5 separate regions of the Homo sapiens genome follow, and regions 2, 3, 4 and 5 are each linked to region 1. Evidence: promoter capture Hi-C in 16 types of primary human blood cells and fetal thymus (Javierre and others, 2016). All regions are on one chromosome and are shown on one strand. Each heading gives the region's core, a stretch centred on a gene start or on the middle of the fragment in contact. The rest is flanking DNA. Distances are from core to core; before and after follow the strand shown. Region 1 holds the start of TBPL1 (TATA-box binding protein like 1). Region 2 has its middle 9.1 kb from the start of VNN2. Region 3 holds the start of RPS12 (ribosomal protein S12). Region 4 overlaps HBS1L (HBS1 like translational GTPase). Region 5 overlaps HBS1L (HBS1 like translational GTPase).

Region 1 (2,708 bases), core at 74-2,573:
GCTTGTGATGTAAGACTAAAGAGGTAACATAAACTGATATTTCACTGGGCATACCAAACTGTGAATAATCCTTTCAACCAGATAGTGCTAACAGTCACTTCTCAATAGGAAGGAACTGCCATTTTCTCAAAGAGACTGCGAAATTATGCCAGGATGGCTGAACCTTCTTATGTCTCTTTTTATATTTTCCCAGAGAATCCACATTGCTTACACACACACACGCAAACCTGCTCCCTTTTCTTAAGTCACAGTTTTAAGGCACTGTTCTAAACCCTAAATACAGAAGCTCATGCACTTACTGCCAGTGTCGCTTTGGAACTGCAGGTGACAGATGCAGTCAGAGAGCTCACAGATGTGGATTGACTGCAGTTTGAGTCTTATTGCAATGAGCACATTGACAGAGCCTGCAGATGCACATCTCGGCAGGAGAGATTTTCTTTTTAAGCCCTCATGCCCTATTAGATTTACTTTTAGGGCTTTTATTGGCTATTTTTATCACTTATCCCGACTCTCATCCCTGCTTAGCCCTACCCACAATTCATTTTCTCTTCTTCAGTTCTAGATCCTTCTCCATCAATCCTAATTTTGGTCAAAAATAATAATAAAATAAAGCGAGGCTGCCGGCATTGCCAGAATCAGAAACCGACGAAGCCGCTTTTTGGGAGCTATTAGAGAAGCCGCTGTAAGTTTTCTGAGAAGCAACGGACCCCTAGCATCTTTGCACGGTCCCTCTTCCCCTGGGTGATGGCTCCGAGACAGATGAGGAATCTCTTTTCCCCGTCTTTCCCAGTGGTGGCTTAAACGAAAGATAACCCTTCTTTTCTTATCCTACACCAGGCTCGGTAACGCTCCCAGGTACGGACGCCCCACCCCCAACCCGTTATCCCTAAAGAGATCCCCAAATATCGCCCGGTCCTCTTCAGAACTGAGCCCTCCCTCGGCCACCGGACCGGTTTCCCCCACCTCAGCGGCTGCCCTCCAGTCGCCCGCCCCCACACATCCCACCCCAAGTCTGGCCCGGGCTCCGCACATGCCCACCCCGCGCCCAGACGCCCCGCACCCGGTGCTCAGGCCGCTCAGCCGCCCGCGCTCCCTGTGCCCAGGGTCGCCTAGGGGGTTACCGTGGGAAGAGGGAGCGGTGGCTGAGGACGCGGCGGCAGCGCTGCTGCCGGTTGCGTCGGATGCGAAGGAGAAGCTGGAGGACAAGGATGAGGATGAGACGGGCGCGCTCCCCAGTCTCCATGGAACTCCCGCCCCGGCCCGTTGCTAGGAGCCCCCGAGGCTCGGACTCCGTCTTCCTTGCTTTGTTGTTCCGGGTGCGAGGCGGCCGCAGCTTCCCCGCGACAATAAATAGACTAGACGCTGGGGAGCATAGAGACAGTGCGCGAGGGCTAGAGCGCCGCCGGACAGGGCGCTCCTGGGTGCCTCGCTAGCCACTCATTTCCGGCTCTCACTGCTCCCGTCACTTTCCCCGTCCCCCGCCCCCACCCTTCCTTCCTCCTTCCTGGTCCCCAAATCAGGCCCCTCCTGCCCACCCGCTGGGCTCGGTGGGAGGTAAGAGGTGGGATGGGGGCGGCGCTAATGGGCATCGGACTAGACTTTTTTGTTTAAGAACCGCTTGAAAGGGTTCTGAAAACACCGTGTATCCTTTGTATATTTTTAGTTGATATCTAAACGTGTAGTAATTTCTGGCATACAGTCGAATATTTAGGTGGACTTTTTTGTCAAAACCGTAGAACTTTCTCATCAGCTCATTAAATTTATACAAAAGGTCCTCCCCACCCCCCATTATATAATTGCTAAAGCTAGTCCTTACCGTCCAGACGAGACTTGTTTTCTGCCTGAAAAAAGTCCTTCGCTTTTTCAGTCAAAATGAACCCGTTAATTTATGATGTCGCGATAAATTCCCCTAGTGAGATTCCTCACTAGGCGAATTGGAATCCTGGTCTTAGAGCGACCGGGGATGACAGATGACAGACGGAGGGAAGGAAGTGGGGAGAGATGGAGACACAAGGTGTGGCGAGACGGAGGGATAACGCAGGACCGTATGCCACTTCTGTCGCCTGTCCCACATTCCTTACTCTACGTGGGTTTGCGGTCGGGACTGTCCCTCGGGAACCGAGAGGCGGATCCAGGAAGGATGGGAGTGGGAGAGGGCGGATGCTGGCGAGGACTCAGGCAGCCCGGGATAGGAGGACCTCTAGGAACGGAGACCCTCCGCGGCTCTGCGCCCAAGTAGCCCTGCAGGGGCCGGGGGACCCCGGGGGCGCACAATGGCCCGTTTGAACCGTCGCCCTGGGGCCCGAGTGCGTCCTCGGGGTCCCTCGGGAGTGGCCTGAGAGGCGCTGCCCGCGGGAGCGAAAATCGCGTAACGGCCCTGAGGGCGCCACGCCACGCCACGCCACGCCACGCCGCGCGGAAGCCCCCGGCTCCCGGCCCCACGTTTCCCACTCTCAGGCCGGCATCGGCCTTTCCACCAGAGCTCGGCTGCAGTCAGAAGCCCCTGGCGTTAGTTGAGGTCAATGGCAGCCCTGATTTAATTATTAAAAGACCACGCCGAGCCGGGTTCATGGGTACCTGGCCTCTGATTGGTGGGAATCAGATGAAAAAAATGAAAATGCCACTGCCTTTTTAAAAGAGAAGACGTGGGCTGAATTCTTGGGGTTTTGACAGTAGGCAACCATTTAGGTATTTTATTATTTACGAGA
Region 2 (2,708 bases), core at 84-2,583, 1.2 Mb after region 1:
ATCCAATGTCTGAGGAGGACAAATGGCCTGCAATTCCCTTCCCGGAGCAGTGCCAGGACAGAGTGTGACCCTGGCCCCCTGCACCCATGTGGCATGCAGATCTGGGCCTTGATTGCCTTAAGTCATCCTGGCCCCCTCCAGGACTTTTTTGACCTTCATGTCCACCCACGCAAGGACAGCCGCCCTTCCTCAGCCCGGTGGTCTTGGATGCGGCTGAGTGCCTGCAGTCCCTGCCACTGTCACTTGGGGCCACTATTAAAGCATGAGTCTGCAGCTTGCACCTTCCTACCCACTATCTGGGCCAGCCTATTCTGTTACCAGCACAGTTGATTGTTGAGAATTCAAAGTCAACGCAAGGATTCGAGGCTCTCTGGGGAGAGAACTTCCTTCATCCCCATTCCCAACACACGGCTCTCAATACTTCCCTTGGATAGCAGTGTATTTAAAGATGCTATGTACAAAACCAAATTTACTCCTTTCTCATTTTGAAATTTTGCAAGTATTAAGATAAGTGGGCCGGGAGCAGTGGCTCACGCCTGTAACCCCAGTACTTTGGGAGGCTGAGGTGGATGGATCACGAGGCCAAGAGATCAAGACCATCTTGGTGAAACTCCATCTCTACTAAAAATACAAAAGTTAGCTGGGCATGGTGGTGTGCGCCTATAGTCCCAGCTACTTGGGAGGCTTAGGCAGGAGAATTGCTTGAACCCGGGAGAAGGAGGTTGCAGTGAGCCGAAATTGCGCCACTGCACTCCACCCTGGTGACAGAGCAAGACTCCGTCTCAAAAAAAAAAAAAAAAAAAAAAGTCACAGAAAAGTTTAAAAAATATGAGAAAAGACAGAGGAAAGAACACTTTGAACAAGAAAACCAAAAGGTAGGTCAAAACTATCAAAGGAAATCTCTGTGTATGTGTTTGTATTTTTATATATTTATAGTCTTCTAAATGTAACAAGGCTGAGCAGCTTAAAAGAACCTTTTTAATAATGAGAATATTCTATATAACTGAATGTGGAATATGTTAGTAATAAAAGGAATCTTTTATGTTAAGATCATATTGCAACCTATACATTATAATATGATACATAAATCAATCCAAAGGAAAACTAAAAAGGTTAAATACAAATCACAGATCATTTTTAAAAATTAAACTTTAAAAATTTTGAGATAATTGTTAATTCACATGCAGTTGTAAGAAATAATAGAAAAAGATCATGAGTATTCTTTCCCTGGTTTTCACCAATGATAACATCTTGCAGAACTATAGTACAATAGCACAACCAGGATACAGAACATTCCCATCGCCACATTCTTCACGTTGTCTTTTTGTAGCTACACCCACTTCCCTCCCATCTTCACTTCTGGCAGCCACTAATCTCTTCTCCATTTCTATCATCTGGTCATTTCAAGAAACGTATAAATGAAATCGTATTGTATGAAACTTTTTGGATTGGCTTTTTTCAGTCAGCATAATGCCCTTGAGTTCTATTGGCATTGTTGCATGTATCAATAGTTCAGTTCTTTAAATTGCTGAGTAGTATTCCATTGGGTGGCTTTAAGACACAATGGAATACTACTTTATTTGTTACAAATAAAGCAGCTATGAACTTTCAGAAACAGGTTTTTTGTTTGTTTGTTTGTTTGTTTTTGCCAGGGGCGAGGGTAGAGGGTGGGATATGAAGCATAAGACTTCACTTCTCTGGAATAAATGCCCAGCAATACAACTGCTGAGTTGCGTGATAATTGCATGATTAGTTTGTTTTCAACTAACTCATTTATTTTAGATAAGAAACTTGATTTTGACAATAAATATTAAATATCACGCATTAATGAAATATCTGGTCAGCCATGGTGGCTCATGCCTATAATCCCAGCACTTTGGGAGGCCGAGGTGGGCGGATCACCTGAAGTCAGGAGTTCAGGACCAGCCTGGCAAACATGGTGAAACTCCATCTCTACAAAAAAATACAAAAATTAGCCGGGCATGGTAATGCCAGCTACTCAGGAGGCTGAGGCAGGAGAATCGCTTGAACCTGGGAGACGGAGGTTCCAGTGAGTTGAGATCACGCCACTACACTCCAGCCTGGGTGACAGAGCAAGACTCTGTCTCAAAATAAATAAATAAATAAATAAATAAATAAATAAGAAATATCCTATTTACTTATTTGTTTAATGATCAAGATTTAAATACGTCACAGATACCCTCTCTAACCTAGCTGGAAAAGATGTGGATAATAAATTCTTATATAGCCAATCAACTTTCATTAAGTGCAATTAATAATTGAGAAGTATCTCTACACATTCATATCAGAAGGAAATTACCCACAGGGTAGTCCCATGATACTCACCATTTCTTTGGTGTCACTGTCACATGACCCCGTTTTATGAAACAAACCCACAGGAGGGGAGGCTCAGACACAACATATTTACATGGAGAAGCTAAAATGTTATTTAAAGTATTAACAAAGGAAACTAAATTCTGCATAGCCAATCTTCATTAAGAGCAGCTTGCAACTCCTAAATATTTGCAGTAGTTTCTTTCAGAAAACCTACAGCTGGACTTCTAATCCCAGCTTACTTATAGTTGAGTATTACAAGGGACCACCTAGGAAAGCATGATGTCATAACAAATTTTGACTTGTAGCTCAGTGCAATTTTATCATCAGTACTAAAACAATTCAGAGTGTATTTCATGTTGATGATAGGTCAA
Region 3 (2,708 bases), core at 75-2,574, 1.1 Mb after region 1:
CCAGCCTGGGGGACAGAGCAAGACTCTTTGTCTCAAAAAAAAAAAAGAAAAAAGAAAAAAAAAAGACTGTGGCATTAATGGAACAGTTATGAAATGCCATGCAATAATGCCGAAATAGAAATACAGAAGACTCATACTAGGACCTACTAAATACATTAAACAATAATGCCGTTTCCATCGGATTGAACTGGCTAGATTACACCAAAACGAACTTGTCCTGTAAAACCTTAAAACTGCATTTAAATTCAGCTCAAGAGTAGGTTGATTTGTCAATGCCACCACCCTAAAAAACACATTAACTCGATCCATTCAAATACATTAACAAATATCCCAAATTCAAATAAATCACAGCTATTATACTACTAAATTCATCTAGGACCAAATGCTTCTGAAACCTGAGTTTGAAATTCCATTAAATTAATGCTTGTTTTGCAAACTACCAGATGTAATGTGGCTCTCCATCTCATCTATCTGCCAGATAAGTATAAGACTGACTAGCTCCACAACCTACAGGTTTGTCAGACTCTTATGTTTCACTCATAAAAGGAGTGAAGGGGTATCCGACAATTAAAGTCATCATTCAAACACTGTAGTTTTGAGTGCTTATCCCCATTCCAAACAGCAACCCACACATTTTAAGTGGGCTTTATAGATCTGAGTTCTGATACCTTTTCCTAGGTTTCCGGTAGGACGGATGCCATTCAGAACTTTTGCGCTAACACCATGAACTCCATGCCTTCTTCCCTTGGGTGGCAGTTTTGTTCCGGTTGCAAGAACCCACAGTATTGAGACTGATACACGTACTTGTCTAAGGCTTTGGCAGCTTCGCGAATTCCACGTGCTAGGCCATCGTGGATGAGGGCAGTCTTCAGAACCTCTTGTAAAGCAGTATTAACGTCCATTACACCTCCAGCAGCAATGCTTAAACGCGACACATCAGAACCATCAGTTAAAATCCTCACACCACATAAGGCCTTGCACTCAGCAAAAGCTAAGTGTACAACAGACGCGCTTACGGCGACCCGTTTGACCCAGTCCTGTTCCGCCAGCTCTAGCCCCACGCCTCAGCCGCACCCCGACCCCAACTCCAACCCCGGCCCCTGGGCTCACCCTTCCTCGGCCATGGCGGTGGGTTACGGGTGAAGTTGAATCTTGAACGCACTAAAAAACAAAAGCATTGACTTGTTAAAGAACCAGATACTCGTCACGAATCCCAGCAAGAACGCAACGAGCCACAAATTATAACCAATACACCCCCCTGCCGCCTCGCTCAACTTACCCCAAGCCTCCGCCTCCGCGCGACTCGGCGGCGGCAGGGAAAGAGGCCTCATCCGCACGCATGCCGGTATTTAAGGGTTTTTCAGGTCCCCTGTGCGCATGTGCACTCCCACCCTCGAAAGAGGTGGCTCCCGCAGTGCCGGGCCTGGGGAGTTTCTGTTTCCGGATTGAGGCGGTTCTGAGGCAAACGTACTGCGAGTTTTCTATCTCTGCCAGGCCGGTCCTTGGCGAGTGCAACAGGCACTACGCGGGCAGCTTCGCGTTGTCCTTCTTTGCGGAGGCGTGGCCCACCGAGGCCCAGGGAACTCATTCTACGGAGCGCGACAGAAGCCAAACAAGTGTGTCCGCGTGTTCTTTAAGGCACCTAGAGCCCTGTATCCCGCCGAGCGCCAGTTTTAACCCTTTCCACACCACGTTCTACTTTCCTGTTGCTTCTACAAGACCCAGCCTCCCCAGGCAGCGCACTTTGTTCCTTCGCTTCTAAGTCACCCTGAGAGACCATGTTTGTGTCGTTGTGGGTGTGATCCTCATCTTTGTCTTCATGAAACGAGAGCCTACATGCTTTCACTCTTCCAGGCTGGAGTGCAATGGCGCGATCTCAGCTTACTGCGACCTCCGGCTCCCGGTTTCAAGCGATTCTCCTGCCTCAGCCTCCCGAGTAGCCGGGATTGCAGGCGCCTGCCACCACCCTGGCTAATTTTTTGTATTTTTAGTAAAGACGGGATTTCACCATGTTGGCCAGGCTGGTCTCGAACTCCTGACCTCAGGGGATCCACCCGCCTCGGCCTCCCAAAATGCTGGGATTAGAGGCGTGACCCGCCGCCCCCGGCCGCTTTCACTATTTCTAAGCCCTTTCCCTGCGGTGTGTTGGTAAAGCGGAACCCTGCAGCCAGGGGTCAATTCTAGTTTCTAAGTATAGCGGGAGTCGCTTCTGAACGAAGTTTGTTCTGCTTTGTTTGGTTTTTAACGACGCGTTGTGCTCGGAATACACAGTTCCGCGCAACTCAGAATTCCTCAGGTGCATTTTCAACACCTACAATGTGCCTGACGCAGGGCCAGGTCCTGGGACTACAGACATGAAATATCCAGTCTTTGAGGAGTCCATTTTCTTCCAGGAAGCAATATTTTAAATTTGGAAGTGATTGGCCATTCCCCAATCCCCACTTCCAAACCAAACGCACGAAACACTACTGAATATGATCAATACTGCCTTTGTGTTTAATTTCCTCTCCTGGGTAGTCAGCCGCCAAACCAGTGAGCAATTATTAGGCGCTTGGCACGTGCCAGCGCTGTGAATCCAGTGGGCAGATACTGTTAGACTGGTGAGTGCAGCGAAAAAAACAAAAATGGGTAACGCAGTAAGAGCACCAGGGAGTTCACCAGAACAGAGACCTGCTGTAATGTTAATAAACTGATAGAGTTCAGTTTAC
Region 4 (2,708 bases), core at 66-2,565, 1.0 Mb before region 1:
CTTGGGCCTTCTTATACAGGTTAAGCATCCCTAATCTGAAAATATGAAATTTGAAATGCTCCAAAATCTGAAACTTTTTGAGTGCTGACATGACATCACAAGTGAAACATTCTACATCTGATCTCATGTGACAGGTCACACAAAATGACTGAAAATGTTGCATAAGATTCCCTTCAGGCTATGTGTATAATGTGTATATGAAACAAAGGAATTTTGTGTTTAGATGTGGGTCCCATCCCCAAGATACCTCATTTTGTATATGCAAATATTCCAAGTCCAAAAAAGTCTGTAATTTGAAAAGCTTCTAGTCCCAAGCATTTCACTAATCTGAATCTACATTTTTGTGGCTGAAAAAAGGCACTATGTTGGTCTCCAGGAAGAATTAAATAGGATACAAAGCAATCTGCTGTTCATCTATCTCTGTTTTTTAAAAATTAGGCATCTGCTTTGATATCTTATGTTTTCTAAATATGTAGCATATTAACCAGCCTTGCAAATTAAGTTTTATAAGCTCATTTCTATAATTAGTGAAGCATAAGTGTAGAACGTGAAGAAAATTACCTCTCGGTCGTGGTAATTTTGCATTTGTCTTTTCTCATATGCAGTATTTTCCCCCCATTTAGAGTTGTCCCCATGTATCCTTCTTCACAATTTACACTATTTCTTACAAAACAAATAAGATAATAGGGCATAACTATCATTTTTATTGAGCTCTTACTTTGTCCTCCCTTTTATGTTAAAACCATATGGATGCACTTCTATTATAGCAGAAATTCCAGCCCCGATTGATAATTTAATTATTCAAAAATAATAGTCTATAAAAACAATTTCCATTTTTACCTAAGAATGTAGATGGTCATGTAGACTATTATTAATTTACTCTATAGCACTATTTATATCGTACATTCTAACCATGTTATGTTTTGTTTAAGGGGAGTAACCATGGATGTTGGTATGACAAAGTTTGAAACCACAACCAAAGTTATTACATTAATGGATGCTCCAGGCCATAAGGACTTCATTCCAAATATGATTACAGGAGCAGCCCAGGTAACTGCTGTTTTCTTCACTATAGTGTGCTGATTGTACTTTACATAAAATTTTCTGATGCTGAGGTTACAATTCTAGGATTTTGACTTTTAAAATATTTTAAAATTAAAAATTTTAACCTTTATAAAGCTTGAACAAAAAGAGCAATATTGTATTTTTCATGATCTTTCTACCTGTACTTTGTAAAACCTTTTAAAATTTCTTACAAAGAAACAAAATGTATAAAAGCTATGAGTTTCTTTATCGTAAAAGTAATGGTAAAGGACTTGATGAGTATAGCTTCATATTTCCTTTATTGATAAGTTGGCCTGAGTATTTCAAAATCTGCCTTATGTCTTTCAATATATTCAAGTTCTATATCTTTTTAAAGAGCTTGTTTATGCAGAAATAATGAAGCTTGGGTATTTTCGCCCAGTGGTTTATTTACTTTCTTTATAATATTAAAAAAGCATTGCAATTTGTAAATTACATGATTCTTAATAAGAATACTGCAAAAAATCAAATATAATTTGCATTCATACATCCCTTAATGATAAGGAAATATTCTGAGAAGTGAGTTGTTAGGCAGTTTCATCATTTGTGAACATATTTGAGTTTACTTACACAAATCTGGATGGTAACATCTTTTATACACCTAGGCTACATGGAACCTATAGTTCCAAGGCAACAAACATGTATAACATATTACTGTATTGAATACTGTAAGCAGTTGTGGCACAGTGGTAAATATTTGTGTATCTAAACTGATCTAAGCATATCATAGAAAAGGTACAGTAAAAATAGGGCATAAAAGATAAAAAATGGTACACCTGTATAGGGCACTTACCATGAATGGAGCTCGCAGGACTGGAAGTTGCTCTGGGTGATTCAGTGAGTGAATGTGAAGGCCTAGGACACGACTGTATACTTTACAAACACTGTACACTCAGGGGACACTACATTTATTTAAAAATATGTTTTTCTTTAATAGTAAATTAAGCTTAGCTTACTGTAGCTTTTTTTACTTTATAAACATTTAAATTTTTTTTAACTTTCTGACTCTCTTATAATAACACTTAGCTTAAAGCACAAACGTTGTACAGCTGTACGAAAATATTTTCTTTCTGTATAGTCTTATTCCATAAGCTTTTTTTAATATGTATTTTTTACTTTAAACTTTTTTTGGTGAAAAACAAAGACACAAATACGCACATTAGCCTAGGCCTACACAGGATCAGGATCATCAGAAGTGAAAAATAGTAAGTACATAAACCACTATCATAATTATCATTATAAAGTACTATACATAATTGCATATGCTATATTCTTTTATACAATTGGCAGCGCAGTAGATTTGTTTATACCAGTATCATCACAGATACATGAGTAATGCATGGTGCTATGACATTATGGCGACTATGACATCACCAGGCAATGGGAGTTTTTCAGCTCCATTATAATCTTATGGGACCACCATCACGTATGCGGTCCATGGTTGACCAAAACGTCATTATGCTGTGCATCACCGTAACTTTAAATTATTAAAGCAATGAAAATAGCACTGCATATATAGGACATTGATTTCTTTCATAATGGATGATTACTGGAAAACATGAAGAGTTAAAATAACTTGACTCTGTTACATGGCAAAAACATGACTTCAAGCAATTACCCGTTTT
Region 5 (2,708 bases), core at 97-2,596, 1.0 Mb before region 1:
TCTAGTGCTTTTTCCGCATCTATTGAGATGATCATCTGTTTTTTTTTTGCTTTTAATTGTTTCAGTGGTGAATCACATTTATTGACTTGCATATGCTGAACCATTCCTGCATCCTTGGGAGGAAACCTCCTTGATCATGATAAAATGTCTTTTGGATATGCTGTTGGACTTGGTTTGCTAGTATTTTGTTAGGGATTTTTGCATCTGTGTTTATCAGGGGTGTTGGTCTGTAGCTTTCTTTTTTTGTTATGTCCTTTCCTGGTTTTGTTATCAGGGTGATGATACTGGCTTTATGGAATGAGTTAGAGAAGATTCTCTCTTTCTCAGTCTTTTAATAGTTTCAGTAGGATTGGTATTATTTCTTTGAATGTCTGGTAGAATTTGGCTATGGATCCATCTGGCCCTGAGCTTTTTTGTTGTTGTTGAAAATTTTTTTTTTATTACTGATTTATTCTCACTGCTTGATATGTGTCTGTTTAGGATTTCTTATTTCTTCCTGATTCAAGCTTGGAGGGTTGTATGTTTCCAGGATTTATCCGTTTCCTCTAGATTTTCTAGTGTGTGCACGGAGGTGTTTATAGTAGTCTCAAATGATCTTTTGTATATCTGTGGTGTCGTTTATAATGTCTCCATTTTCCTTTTGAATTGAGCTTATTTGAATCTTCTCTCTTACTCTATATTTTTTAAGAGGAAATAATAGAAGAATGGATTAGACTTTAAGTGAATTTATATTTGATTTTTATTATTTTATATATATATATATGTGACATAGAACTTACCATTTTTAAGTGTACAATCAGTGGCATTAAGTACCTCCACAATGTTGTGCAGTCATCACTACTGTTCATTTTTTTTTTTTTCTTGAGATGGAGTCTCGCTTTGGCATCCAGGCTAGAGTGCAGTGGCACAATCTTGGCTCACTGAAACCTCTGCCTCCTGGGCTCAAGCAGTTCTCCTGCCTCAGCCTCCCGGAACTGCCTCAGCCTCTCGAGTAGCTGGGACTACAGGTGTGCACTACCACGCCTGGCTAATTTGTTTTATTTTTAGTGGAGACGGGGTTTCACCATGTTGGCCAGGCTGGTCTTGAACTCCTGACCTCAGGTGATCCACCCGCCTTGGCCTCCCAAAGTGCTGGGATTATAGGCATTGAGCCACTGCGCCTGGCCAGTCATCACTACTATTCATCTGCAGAACTTCTTCAACATCCCAAACTGAAAATCTGTACCCATGACACAGTATCTTCCCATTATTCCCTCTTGGTATCCCCTGATAACCATTCTTCTACTTACTTTCTCTGTGAATTTGCCTGCTCTAGGTTCCTTATGTAAGTGGAATCATACAATATTTGTCCTTTTGTGTCTGGCTTATTTCACTTAGCAAATTGTTTTCATGGTTTGTCCATGTTGTAATATGCATCAGAATTTCATCCCCTTTTAAGCCTGAATAACATTCCATTGCATGTATATACCACCTTTTAAAAATCCATTTATCTGTTGATGCACATTTGGGTTATTTCCATCTTTTGGCTATTACAAATAATGCTGCTGTGAAAACGGGTGTACAAGTATCTATTGAGATTCCTGCTTTCCATTCTTTTGGGCATATGCCTAGGAGTGGAATTGCTGGATCATATGGTAATTCTGTGTTTAACTTTTTGAGGAACTGCTAAACCATTTTCCACAGGGGCTCTACCATTTTACATTCCCACCAGCAGTGCATAAGGGTTCTATTTTCTCTACTTTCTTGTCAACACATTAAATAACAAGTTTTCTAGTAGTGGGGTGTGGGAGAGGGATTTTAAAAATATAATAGGCAAACTAATAGTTGTTAAGTGGTGTCTCATGGTGGTTTTGGTTTGGATTTCTCTAATTAGATGCTGAACATCTTTTCATGTGCTTATTGGCCATTTGTATATCTTTGAGAAATGTCTTTTTAAATCCTTTGCACATTTTGAATTAGGTTGTGTTGTTATTAATAGAAGTTCTTAATATCATCCCTTATTACATACATGATTTGCAGATATTTTCTCCTATTCTCTAGGCTGCCTTTTCATTTTCTTGGTAGTGTCCTTTGTTGCACAAAAGTTTTTAATTTGGTTGAAGTACAGTTTATTTTTTCCTTTGTTGCCTATGTTTTTGGTGTATTATCCAAGAAATCATGGCCAAATCCAATGTCATAAAGCTTTTGTGCTATGTTCTCTTCTAAGAGTTTTGTTGTTTTTGCTTTTATATTTAGGTCTTTGATCCATTTTCAGTTAAGTTTTGTACATATGTAAGGTAGAGAGCTTCATTGTTTTGCATATGGATATCCAGTTTTCCCAGCACGATGAGTTGAAAAGACTATTCCTTCCCTATTGAATGGTGCTGGTACCCTGGTTGAAAACCAATTGACTATGTATTTGTTAACATTTTAAAAATACAGGTTATCTAGAAAATTAAGGAAAATGATTTACTTGGCCACCTAACAGACTACGTAGCCCATTTGAGTTTATAGAACACTAGATAATTTGATTCTCATAACCCTACACGAAGAATAGAATCCCAGCCTTTACCTGAAACCCTTTAGAGCAATGGTTTTAGAATTCAGAAATGTTAGAACTTTAGAAAGGTAAATAATGCATACAAGTTACATAACAGAAGGGAACAACACTCTAAAATCAAAATATTAATGTTTCTGCACCAGAACTTATTAACACTAACTGAGATAAA

The links. Contacts are between HindIII fragments. The CHiCAGO score rates a contact against its expected background, and 5 or more counts as called.
Region 2: a contact is called between a fragment that was not itself captured here and the fragment with the promoter of TBPL1 in region 1, in 1 of 17 cell types (total CD8 T cells). The highest score is 6.4, in total CD8 T cells.
Region 3: a contact is called between the fragment with the promoter of RPS12 here and the fragment with the promoter of TBPL1 in region 1, in 8 of 17 cell types (activated CD4 T cells, non-activated CD4 T cells, total CD4 T cells and 5 more). The highest score is 13.0, in activated CD4 T cells.
Region 4: a contact is called between a fragment that was not itself captured here and the fragment with the promoter of TBPL1 in region 1, in 1 of 17 cell types (total CD8 T cells). The highest score is 5.1, in total CD8 T cells.
Region 5: a fragment that was not itself captured here is called in contact with the fragment with the promoter of TBPL1 in region 1 in 1 of 17 cell types (M0 macrophages); the score reaches 5.6 in M0 macrophages.

What each region holds. Positions count from the first base shown.
Region 1 is chr6:133,951,839-133,954,546 of GRCh38, reverse strand. TBPL1 (TATA-box binding protein like 1) reads right to left here and starts at 1,323. Exons shown (of 7, transcript NM_004865.4): 1 at 1,122-1,323. It overlaps LOC128092253 (umcharacterized LOC128092253), which reads right to left and starts at 1,243. Exons shown (of 2, transcript NM_001414965.1): 1 at 1,122-1,243. The coding sequence starts at 1,243. RefSeq lists a silencer at 2,216-2,325. The HindIII fragment of the contact is 10,274 bases long and covers 1-2,708 here.
Region 2 is chr6:132,765,672-132,768,379 of GRCh38, reverse strand. No RefSeq gene overlaps it. Among named protein-coding and RNA genes, the nearest start is that of VNN2, 9.1 kb to the right of the region's middle. RefSeq lists an enhancer at 15-174. The HindIII fragment of the contact is 5,294 bases long and covers 1-2,708 here.
Region 3 is chr6:132,813,185-132,815,892 of GRCh38, reverse strand. RPS12 (ribosomal protein S12) reads right to left here and starts at 1,324. Exons shown (of 6, transcript NM_001016.4): 1 at 1,280-1,324; 2 at 1,111-1,161; 3 at 805-921. The coding sequence starts at 1,124. SNORD101 (small nucleolar RNA, C/D box 101) reads right to left here and starts at 586; the gene lies at 514-586. LOC107986644 (a long non-coding RNA gene) reads left to right here and starts at 1,605. Exons shown (of 3, transcript XR_001744345.3): 1 at 1,605-2,600. RefSeq lists enhancers at 859-988, 1,419-1,698, 1,613-2,359. The HindIII fragment of the contact is 13,401 bases long and covers 1-2,708 here.
Region 4 is chr6:134,992,100-134,994,807 of GRCh38, reverse strand. HBS1L (HBS1 like translational GTPase) reads left to right here. Exons shown (of 18, transcript NM_006620.4): 8 at 933-1,050. Among named protein-coding and RNA genes, the nearest start is that of MIR3662, 14 kb to the right of the region's middle. The HindIII fragment of the contact is 267 bases long and covers 1,182-1,448 here.
Region 5 is chr6:134,971,991-134,974,698 of GRCh38, reverse strand. All of the region lies in intron 15 of HBS1L (HBS1 like translational GTPase), which reads left to right. Among named protein-coding and RNA genes, the nearest start is that of MIR3662, 6.1 kb to the left of the region's middle. The HindIII fragment of the contact is 1,675 bases long and covers 509-2,183 here.